2 separate regions of the Homo sapiens genome follow, and region 1 is linked to region 2. Evidence: promoter capture Hi-C in 16 types of primary human blood cells and fetal thymus (Javierre and others, 2016). All regions are on one chromosome and are shown on one strand. Each heading gives the region's core, a stretch centred on a gene start or on the middle of the fragment in contact. The rest is flanking DNA. Distances are from core to core; before and after follow the strand shown.

The links. Contacts are between HindIII fragments. The CHiCAGO score rates a contact against its expected background, and 5 or more counts as called.
Region 1: a contact is called between a fragment that was not itself captured here and the fragment with the promoter of CRYAA in region 2, in 1 of 17 cell types (total CD4 T cells). The highest score is 5.7, in total CD4 T cells.

The regions. Positions count from the first base shown.
Region 1 is chr21:43,625,836-43,630,571 of GRCh38, reverse strand. It overlaps HSF2BP (heat shock transcription factor 2 binding protein), which reads left to right. Exons shown (of 9, transcript NM_007031.2): 6 at 118-250. Among named protein-coding and RNA genes, the nearest start is that of MIR6070, 18 kb to the right of the region's middle. The HindIII fragment of the contact is 2,248 bases long and covers 127-2,374 here.
Region 2 is chr21:43,166,982-43,171,621 of GRCh38, reverse strand. CRYAA (crystallin alpha A) reads right to left here and starts at 2,614. Exons shown (of 3, transcript NM_000394.4): 1 at 2,334-2,614; 2 at 983-1,105. The coding sequence starts at 2,522. It overlaps LOC107987300 (a long non-coding RNA gene), which reads left to right and starts at 40. Exons shown (of 3, transcript XR_007067885.1): 1 at 40-585. RefSeq lists an enhancer at 4,266-4,640. The HindIII fragment of the contact is 23,635 bases long and covers 1-4,640 here.

The DNA of each region.
Region 1 (4,736 bases), core at 1-2,500, 460 kb before region 2:
AATAGATTTTACAATATTCTACAATTAAAACTAGAATCTTCTGTATCCTGCACTTTTAAAATGTTTTCACACTAGTGTCTGTAAAAAGATATGACACTCTGATTTTCAAACTTTCAGGATAAAGCTTTGAAGTTTTTCAGCATCACTGGTCAAACAATGGAGAGTTTTGTGAAGTCGTTAGACGGTGATGTCCAGGAGCTGGATTCGGATGAAAGTCAGTTTGTTTTCGCTCTGGCTGGAATTGTCACGAGTAAGTGCAGGCGCACCTGAGAGATGTTGCCTGTTTGCTTCCAGACCACTGCAGTAAAGCAAATACTGCAATAATACATGAGTCACATGAATGTTTTTGGTTTCCCAGTGCATATACAAATTATGTTTACACTATACTGTAGTCTGTTGTATGTACAATAGCATTATGTCTAAAAAATGTACAAACTTTAATTAGAAAATTCATTATTGCTAAAAATGCTAATGATCATCTGAGCCTTCAGCAAGTTACAATTTTTTGCTGGTAGAGGGTCTTGCCGTGATATTGATGACTGCTAACTGATCAGGGTGGTAGTTACTGAAGGTTGGGGTGGCTGTGCCAATTTCTTAAAATAAGGAACAATGAAGTTTGCCACATTGATTAATTCTTCCTTTCATGTAAGATTTCTCAGTAGCATGTGATGCTGTTTGATAGCATTTTTTCCACAGTAGAACATCTTTCAAAATTGGAGTCAGCCCTCTCAAACCTTACTGCTGCTTTGTCAACTAAGTTTATGTAATATTCTGAATCTCTTGTTCTTATTTCAACAATGTCTTAGCATCTTCACCAAGAGTAGATTCCATCTCAAGAAACCACTTTCTTTGTTCTTCCATAAGAAGCAACTTATCCTTTTTTTCTGCCACCACGTCTGTAGTTACTTACTCCACTGAAGTCATGAACCCTTCAAAGTCATCCATGAGGATTGAAATCAACTTCTTCCGAACTCCTGTTAATGTTGTTATTTTGACCTCCTCCCATGAATCATGAATATTCTCTTGTTGCCCAGGCTGGAGTGCAACGGCGTGATCTCGGCTCACTGCAGCCTCCACATCCTGTATTTAAGTGATTCTCCTGCCTCAGCCTCCCAAGTAGCTGGGATTACAGGCATGCGCCACCATGCCCAGCTAATTTTGTATTTTTAGTAGAGATGGGGTTTCTCCATGTTGGCCAGGCTGGTCTTGAACTCCTGACCTCAGGTGATCTGCCCACCTCAGCCTCCCAAAGTGCTGGGATTATAGGCATGAGCCACTGCGCTTGGCTGAATCATGAATATTCTTAATGGCATCTAGAATGGTGAATCCTTTTTAGAAGGTTTTCAGTTTACTTCACCCAGATCCATCAGAGGAATCACTGTCTATGGCAGCTGTAGCGTTATGAAATGTAGTTCTTAAAAAAAATAGGACTTGAAAGTTGAAATTTCTTTTTGATATATGAGCTGAAGAATAGGTATTGTATTAGCAGGCATGGAGTCAACATTACTTTCCTTGTACCTCTCCATCATGGCTCTTGATTGACCAGGTGCATTGTCAATGAACAGTAGTGTTTTGAAAGAAATCTTTTTTTCTGAGCAGTAGGTCTCAACAGTGGGCTGAAAATATTCAGTAAACCATGCTGGAAACAGGTGTGCTGTCATCCAGGCTTTGTTTTTCTATTTCTAGAGCATAGGCAAGAGTAGATTTAGCATAATTCTTAAGGGCTCTAGGATTTTCAGAATGGTTAAATGAGCATTGGCTTCAATTAAAGTCACCCGCACCATTGGCCCCTAACAAGAGAGTCAGCCTGTCTTTTGATGCTTTGAAGCCAGGCATTGACTTTTCTCTAGCGGTGAAAGTCCTAGATGGCGTCTTCTTCCAATAGAAAGCGACTTTGTCTACATTGAAAATCTCTTGTTTAGTGTAACCACCCTCGGCAGTGATCTTAGCTAGATCTTCTGGATAACTTGCTGCAGCTTCTCCATCAGCACTTGCTGCTGCACGTTGTTTTTATGTTATGGAGACAACTTCTTTCCTTAAACCTCATGAAGCAACCTGTACTAGCTTCCAGCTTTTCTTCTGCAGCTTCCTTACCCCTGTCAGCCTTCACAGAATTGAAGAGCATTGGGGCTTTTCTCTGAATTAGGCTTTGGCTTAAGGGATTTTTGATGATTTTTGATCTTCTGTCTAGAATACTTGGGCTTTCTCCATATCAGCAATAAGGCTGTTTTGCGTTCTTATCATTCATGTGTTCACTGGAATAGAGCTTTTAATTTCTATCGAGAACTTTGCATTTGCAGTCATAACTTGGCTGTTTGGCACAAGAGGTCTAACTTTCAGCAGGTCTCAGCTTTGGCCATGCCTTCACTAAGCTTAATCATTTCTAGCTTTTGCTTTCAGATATGTATCTTTTCCTTTTGCTTGAACATTTAGAGGTCATTGTAGGGTTATTAACTGTCCGAATTTCAGTATTGTTGTGTCTCAGGGAATAGCAAGTTCCTAGGAGAGGGAGAGAAACGGGAATGGCCAGTCATTGGAAAAATCAGAAGATAAGTAGCATGTATTGATTAAATTTGCTGTCTTACATGGGTGTGGCTCATGGTGCCCTAAAACAATTACAGTGGTAACATCAAAGATCATTGATCACAGATGACCATAACAGATGTAATAATAATGAAAAAGTTTCAACTATTGCAAGAATTACCAAAATGTGACACAGAGACATGAATTAAGCACACACTGTTGGAAAAATGGCACCAACAGACTTGCTCAATGTAGGGTTGCCACATTCCTTCAATTTGTAAAAAAACAGTATCTGCAAAGCACAATAAAGTGAATGCAATAAAACGAAATGTGCCTGTAATTCTTTTCAGCTGTAGTGACTGTTACAGAGACTGGTGTTTACAGTCAGGGTTGAGAGTGTGTAAACATCTCTCAGGAGTGTTTTCAGATATTAATGCTGGGGAGCACCCTGGATAATCTGATTCCATAGTTCTGGGATAGGTACCGGGTATGTTTATTTTGGAAAATCACCCCAGGTGATTCTGATAAGTATCAGTTATTAAGAATGAATGATCTGAAGGAAACAGATGAGTTTGCATGTTCTGTGTAGTTATGTACCTTGACAGAAAAAAACAAGTAAGTTTAGCTGCTTTTATTCAGAATCATAATTTTACTGTCTGGCTAGCTAAAGTAAAAGCCTTAAGCTAAGCTTAAGCTGAGCTCTTTGCTGTTGTTTTAGTATAATAATTATATAATTCCAAAAACCTAAATTGCCTCTTCAGTAAAATTCTCCTAAAAGATAATAAAGTAAACCTTTCCCTGAGAGTTATGATAAAATTCCGTCTCAGAACTATCATAAGGGATAAAGTCCAGGAACTAAATAATTTCTCAGTATAGAAGCAAGGCATGGTGGCTTACGCCTGTAATCCCAGCATTTTGGGAGGCTTGAGGCGGGTGGATCATTTGAAGTCAGGAAGAATTCGAGACCAGCCTGGCCAACATGGGGAAACCTGTCTTTATTAAAATACAAAAAAATTAGCCAGGCGTGGTGGCGCACACCTGTAATCCCAGCTACTCAGTAGGCTGAGGCAGGAGAATTGCTTGAACCTGGGAGGTGGAGGTTGTAGTGAGCTGAGATCGTGCCACTACACTCCACCCTGGGTGACAGAGCAAGACTCCGTCTCTTAAAAAAAAAAAAAAAATTTCTTGGTATAGAAAGAGGTGGAATGTACTAGTGAGTATTGAGGCTCTTTGTTCTGAAGTCAGTGAAATGGTTCAATACATTGCTGTGACTTATCAGCCTTAACGAGATTCAGAAAATATGACTAAGTACAGAGTTTATTTGTGCACAGAGCTTGACGGTGGCCACTCAGAAACACCAACTTCAAACCAGTGGGGTCAGGGTTCCAAAGTGAAGAAGATATCACTGATATAGGCAGAGACAGAGAAGTTCCAGCAGGATTAGAACATTTTCCATACAAGACCAGTGTGTGTGCCACAGTGATTTGACTGTTTATAGATTGCTACATTCCAAGGAGGGTTATCTGAGGAAGTCTTATCTTCAGCAGTTTGGTCTTAATTATTTACAGGAAAGAAAAATGCAGAATTTGCAGCCGCATATCTACATTCCTCACAATGGTTGGGATAATTTAAAGTCCCAACAGCTTTAAGTTTGAATTATTTAATTTCAGACTTTTTTTTTTACATTGATCTTTAATCTCTGCTTTATTTGCTTTATTATTTTCCCATGCTGTTCTTAGGAAAATTCTCTGCTGTTAAAGTGAGAGAAAATTTTATTTTTCTTTTGGTGTTATTCTTTTATTGAAATCCTAATGGGGTAGGTCTGTGTAGACATTTGTTTCTTAATCCTTTAAAACTTGATGATAGTTCTTGCGGGGTGGATGCTGAGACTGTGATGTTTTCTGGCTATTCCTTACTCCAGTGCAGGGCAGCATTCTATACGTTCATCATGGCACCTACAGTTGTAGCAGGCTTGCATTGCCCTCCCTTTAAAAACATTGTTTGAAGGTTGTCTTTTAACAGAAGGCATTTGCAAATTAAATAATTTGCGTTTTCTTCTCTTTGCAAGTGACCCCAAAGGCGTATGACCTATGTGACTTGTCATGTTGCTGGTTGTGAATCTGAGCTGCCTGAATTGCTGGCTGACATGCTGGTGAGGCAGTGGGCTGTGAGTGAAGCCGCCCTGTTGCCCAGCATTCAAGCTCAGCGCGGCT
Region 2 (4,640 bases), core at 1,365-3,864:
TGACCTCCTCCTCCACTGGGTGCAAAGACCAAGAGCTGGGAGCTCAGGAAGCATGTTCCAGGCTGGCTGGGGCTACGTGGGGGCTTTACCGGGCCCAGGCGAGGGAGGGGCAGCACATGAGGAGGTCAGCGTTCACCCCCCAGCACCACCTTCTCCAGCCATTGAAAGAGGACCCTGGCCAAAAGAAACCAAGACTTTGGCTAAGAGTTCCACCTTCCAGCCCCACTCTGCTCTCCAGCCCCCGCGGGGCACTGTCCATCTGTGACAGTCCATGAGCTCTTCCCGGCTCCGCCAGGAGATGCAGGTCACCAGGGCTCCAGTGCCCCGGCTCCCTCAACACCACGGAGATCCGAGGCCTCCAGCCGAGCAAGAGCGGGGCATCAGGGTGACTGTGGGGAGAAGCTCCCGTCCACCTGCCCGGTACTAGCTGTGGGACCCAGCAGGCTGAGGACCCCCTTGTTCCCCAGCCGTGCCCTGGAATAATGAGGACACTGGTTCCAAAGTGCTGCTGTGAGGCGAAGGTGTCAATGCCTGTAAAGCATTCCAAGCGGATGCAGCTATGCCGTCGGGGACTGGCTTCCTCAGGTAGGGTTCATGTGAAGATGTACACTGGCTAGGAGGCGGCCACCCGGGGCACTCCCACTTCCTGGGGTTCTTTCTAAGACCACCCTGGCATCCAGGTGACAGGGATGGAGCTGGCGACGGCTGGGTGCAGCCCGGGAAGGGACCCTAACCTGGATCCCTGAGCCACATTAGCTCGGGAATGGTGACCTCTGTCACCGGGAGGGGCTGGCTGTGCTCAGGTGGGCACGGCCCCTCCCTTGGGGAAAAGCCAGGCCTGATTCGGGGTCCCCTGGAGAGCGTCCCTCTCCCAGGGTTGAAGGCATGGTGCAGGTGTGCAGGCCCGGTCGTGCCCGCCGTGACCCCCTTGTCCTCGCGCCCAACTCGCCCCCCTCTCCCACCTCTCAGTGCCTGGGCTCACCTGGCGCTCGTTGTGCTTTCCGTGGATCTCCACAAAGTCGTCCTGCACCTTCACGGTGAGGTCCTCCGGGGAGAAGTGCTTCACATCGAGGAAGATGACGAACTTGTCCCGGTCGGATCGAACCTGAAATCCAAACGTGCCATGTGGAGCTGCCCAGAGGGTGCCGTCCCTGCTGGGGTTGGCAGAGACAGGGCGGGTCCCGGTTATCAGAACAGAGATGCTTCGGTCACCTGCCGGCCTCTTCTCCCACACACCAAGTGGGGCAGAGCTTTCGGGGGCCTGTGACTGTCTCCTGGACAGACAGGCATGACCCTCGACCTGTCTCCAAACCCTCAGGGCCAGCTGAGGGGCTGAATGCTACTGGTGGGCCGGCTGGTTGTTTGGCTATGGTCAGGTGGCTGGTTATAGATAAGTTGGCTGGTTATGGGCTGGCTGGCTACTGGTTATGGTAGGAGGGGTCGTTACGGGTTGGTTGGTCCGTTAGGGTCAATCGTCTGGCTGGTGATGCTTGGCTGGCTGGCTGGACTCAGCCTGTGGAATGAGGTCACTGCCCTTGGTGTCATGCTGTCTATAGAAGCGGCCGGAGCCTGCTGACAGCCTGCGCAGCTGCCTCTCCAAAACGCACTTCCACATGCTCCTTCTCACTCCCCTGGCTCAGCCTTGGCTCCCTGAGGCATTTTGCACCCTGGCGTTGATGCCTACTGCAGCAGCCCTGGGGAGGACCCTGTTTATGAGGTGCTGGGTGGGACTCAGGCCCTCCAGAACAGCAGAACCTGCACCGCTCACCCGTGGCTCAGAGAGGAGGCCTGTGGTTGGGTGGGGGGGGGGGCGTCCATTGCCTGTCCTTTTAGCCTTGGCAGGGCACCTAAGTAAACTTGCCAAGAGCTTTGCTAGCCGTGGGCAGGCCGAGCTCATTGGAGGAGGTGCTAGGAACGCCCTGCTCTCTGGCTTTCAGGACTATGACCCCCACCTGCTCCCAGGTCTCCGGGACTCAGGAGACCAGAGGAACCCGGGAGCTGGCATTCGCCACCACGCATGCCTGGATGGGCTGCTCTTGGGGTTTCCAGTATGTGGCTGGTGCCTTACAAAGCACACATGGGTCATGAGCTGATGGAGGAAAGCAAAGGTGGATTCAGGCTGCTCCCTTGTCCACCCTCTCCCCAGTGCCAGGGGAAGCTCTGCCACGTGGCTGCAGTGGGGACACAGGCTCTCGCCCAGCCTCTGCAAGGGGATGAAGTGGGACGAGGCCACCTGCCTGACGGAGCAAGACCAGAGTCCATCGCTCTCCACCCACCGAGGCCACCACCCTCTGAGCAGCGAGGAGAGGCCAGCACCACGGGCCACGTCTTACCTCAGAGATGCCGGAGTCCAGCACGGTGCGGAAGAGGGACTGGCGGTAGTAGGGGCTGATGGTGGACGACAGGAAGGGCAGCAGGTCATACTCAAAAAGGCCCTCGCCGAAAAACTGGTCGAACAGCCGGCTGGGGTAGAAGGGCCCCAGGGTGCGCTTGAACCAGGGGTGCTGGATGGTCACGTCCATGTTCAGCTTTGGTACCACGGGGACCTGGAGGCTGGCAGGAGTCAGCGGGGCCTCTGGGCAGCGCAGTGTGGAGCCAAGGCCGAGCCCTCCCTATATATGCCACCAGCAGAATGGAGGCATTAAGGGATTTCTCTGGAAAGGCGTGAGCTCATGAAGAAGGCTGCTCAGTCAGCAGAAACGTGGCTGGGACAAGTGCCCGCCCCCAGCCCCAGGAGGGGCTGCACGGACTGTCCCCGAGGCCTGGACTCAGCTGAGGCCCGCCTGGGCACCCTGGGGCTCCCGGGAGGGCAGACAACCCAAGGAGGCGCCTGTGCCCCATACTCGCCTGGGGCGACAATGGAGCTTCTCATCTGCCAGTCACTGGGCAGGGGCTACGTGCCAGGGACCATGCTAGTTCTCTGCACACCTTGTCCTGCCGGGGTGGTCCTCATGGTCGCCAGAGGAGGGAGAGCACACACCCCCGTTAGACACAGAGGTTAGACACATCGTCCTCAGAGTCTCACCGGGCCTGGGCAAGAGTGCACTGGTTTCCAAAGCGGAGTGCATCTGTGAACCTCCGTTACACTCACCACTTACAAAAGTACGCATGCTTGTTAAAACTCGTGGAGAAGAAGCTGCAAGGTGCCATAATTCCAGCACCTGGGGGAGCCCTATGGCGTTTCATGCTTGTCCTCCAGGGGTCACATGCCTCCAACAGGAAGACGGGCTGGGCTGTGGGCAGATGAGAGCACCACGTGGTGAGCTTCCCTCTGCGGCCCACCCTGGACGCCCAGCCCCATGGCCATCGTCCCCTCGATGTAACGCCTCGAGCGTTACATCTCGTAATGATGTAATGCCTTGATGTAACATCCCCACGTAACGCCTCGAGCCTCCGTGGCATGACCTGCCGTGGCTGTTGAGTTGGGCTGCTCCTGTCAGGGTGGCGACATGTCCCCACGTCCCTGTCACCCATGCGGACCCACCACCCACATGATCCTGTTATCCACAAGTCCTGGTGATTATTTTGCTCCTCGACCCATGGCCCCTGTCCAGTTCTCACTAAGTGTCCAGGCACTCCCGGTTTTGTTTGTTTGTTTTTGAGATGGAGTCTTGCTGTGTCACCCAGAGTGGCGCCCAGATCATATAGTGGCGCGATCTCAGCTCACTGCAACCTCTGCCTCCCAGGTTCAAACAATTCTCCCACCTCAGCCTCCTGAGTAGCTGAGACTGCAGGTGCCTGCCACCACACCTGGCTAATTATTATTATTATTATTATTATTATTATTTTTGTATTTTTAGTAGAGACAGGGTTTCACCGTGTTGGCCAGGCTGGTCTCAAACTCTTGACCTCAGGTGACCCACCTGCCTTGGCCTCTCAAAGTGTAGGATTACAGGCGTGAGCCACTGCACCTGGCTCACTCCTAGTTTTAAGTCTTTTGATATTTTGGTATTTTGATATTTTGGTAAACTGGCCCTGGGGAGCATGGTCCTCCCCCACATCCCCCCTGCCAGCCTGGGAAGAGGCCATGCCCCCTCTCCCAGGCTAGCTTTTCTAGTGTACGGTCCAGGCTGTGGGAAGTTGCCTGGTTCTCTTTGGCCTCCTAGTTCCTACTCAGCCTCTAACAGATTCGTGCGTGTGGAGTGAACACACACCCAGGACACTCCCGGGCTTTGCAAATTCATCTCCAGCCCATGGGCTCAGAAGGCCATGAAATGTCAGATGCCCCAGTGTATGCGGATCAGACCTGACACATCCCAGATGGGATCAGGGATGAAAGGGGGGGCTCCGAGGCGTGCTCCACGGGGCACCTCCATCATGAGCAGCACCCATGAGCAGCACCCTTCCTCCTACATTTACAGCACTGTCCGGGGACACAGGATCCCAAAAAATCTTGAAATGATAGCTTTTGCCCTGCAAGGTTACAATTCCAGAGGAGCGATTCCCTGGGGTGCCAAATTAAGGTGCAGATAGGAAACGCTGGGAGAGTGATGGGTGCTTCCCCCGAAAGCCTACACCAGACCTCTCTGCCTGTGGGTCCTCAGAGCCACCCTGTGAAGCAGGTCCCAGCATCATTCCCGCTTCATAGACCAGGAAATGGGAGCTTAGAAGGTTAAGCCGCACGCCCAGGTCACTTGGCT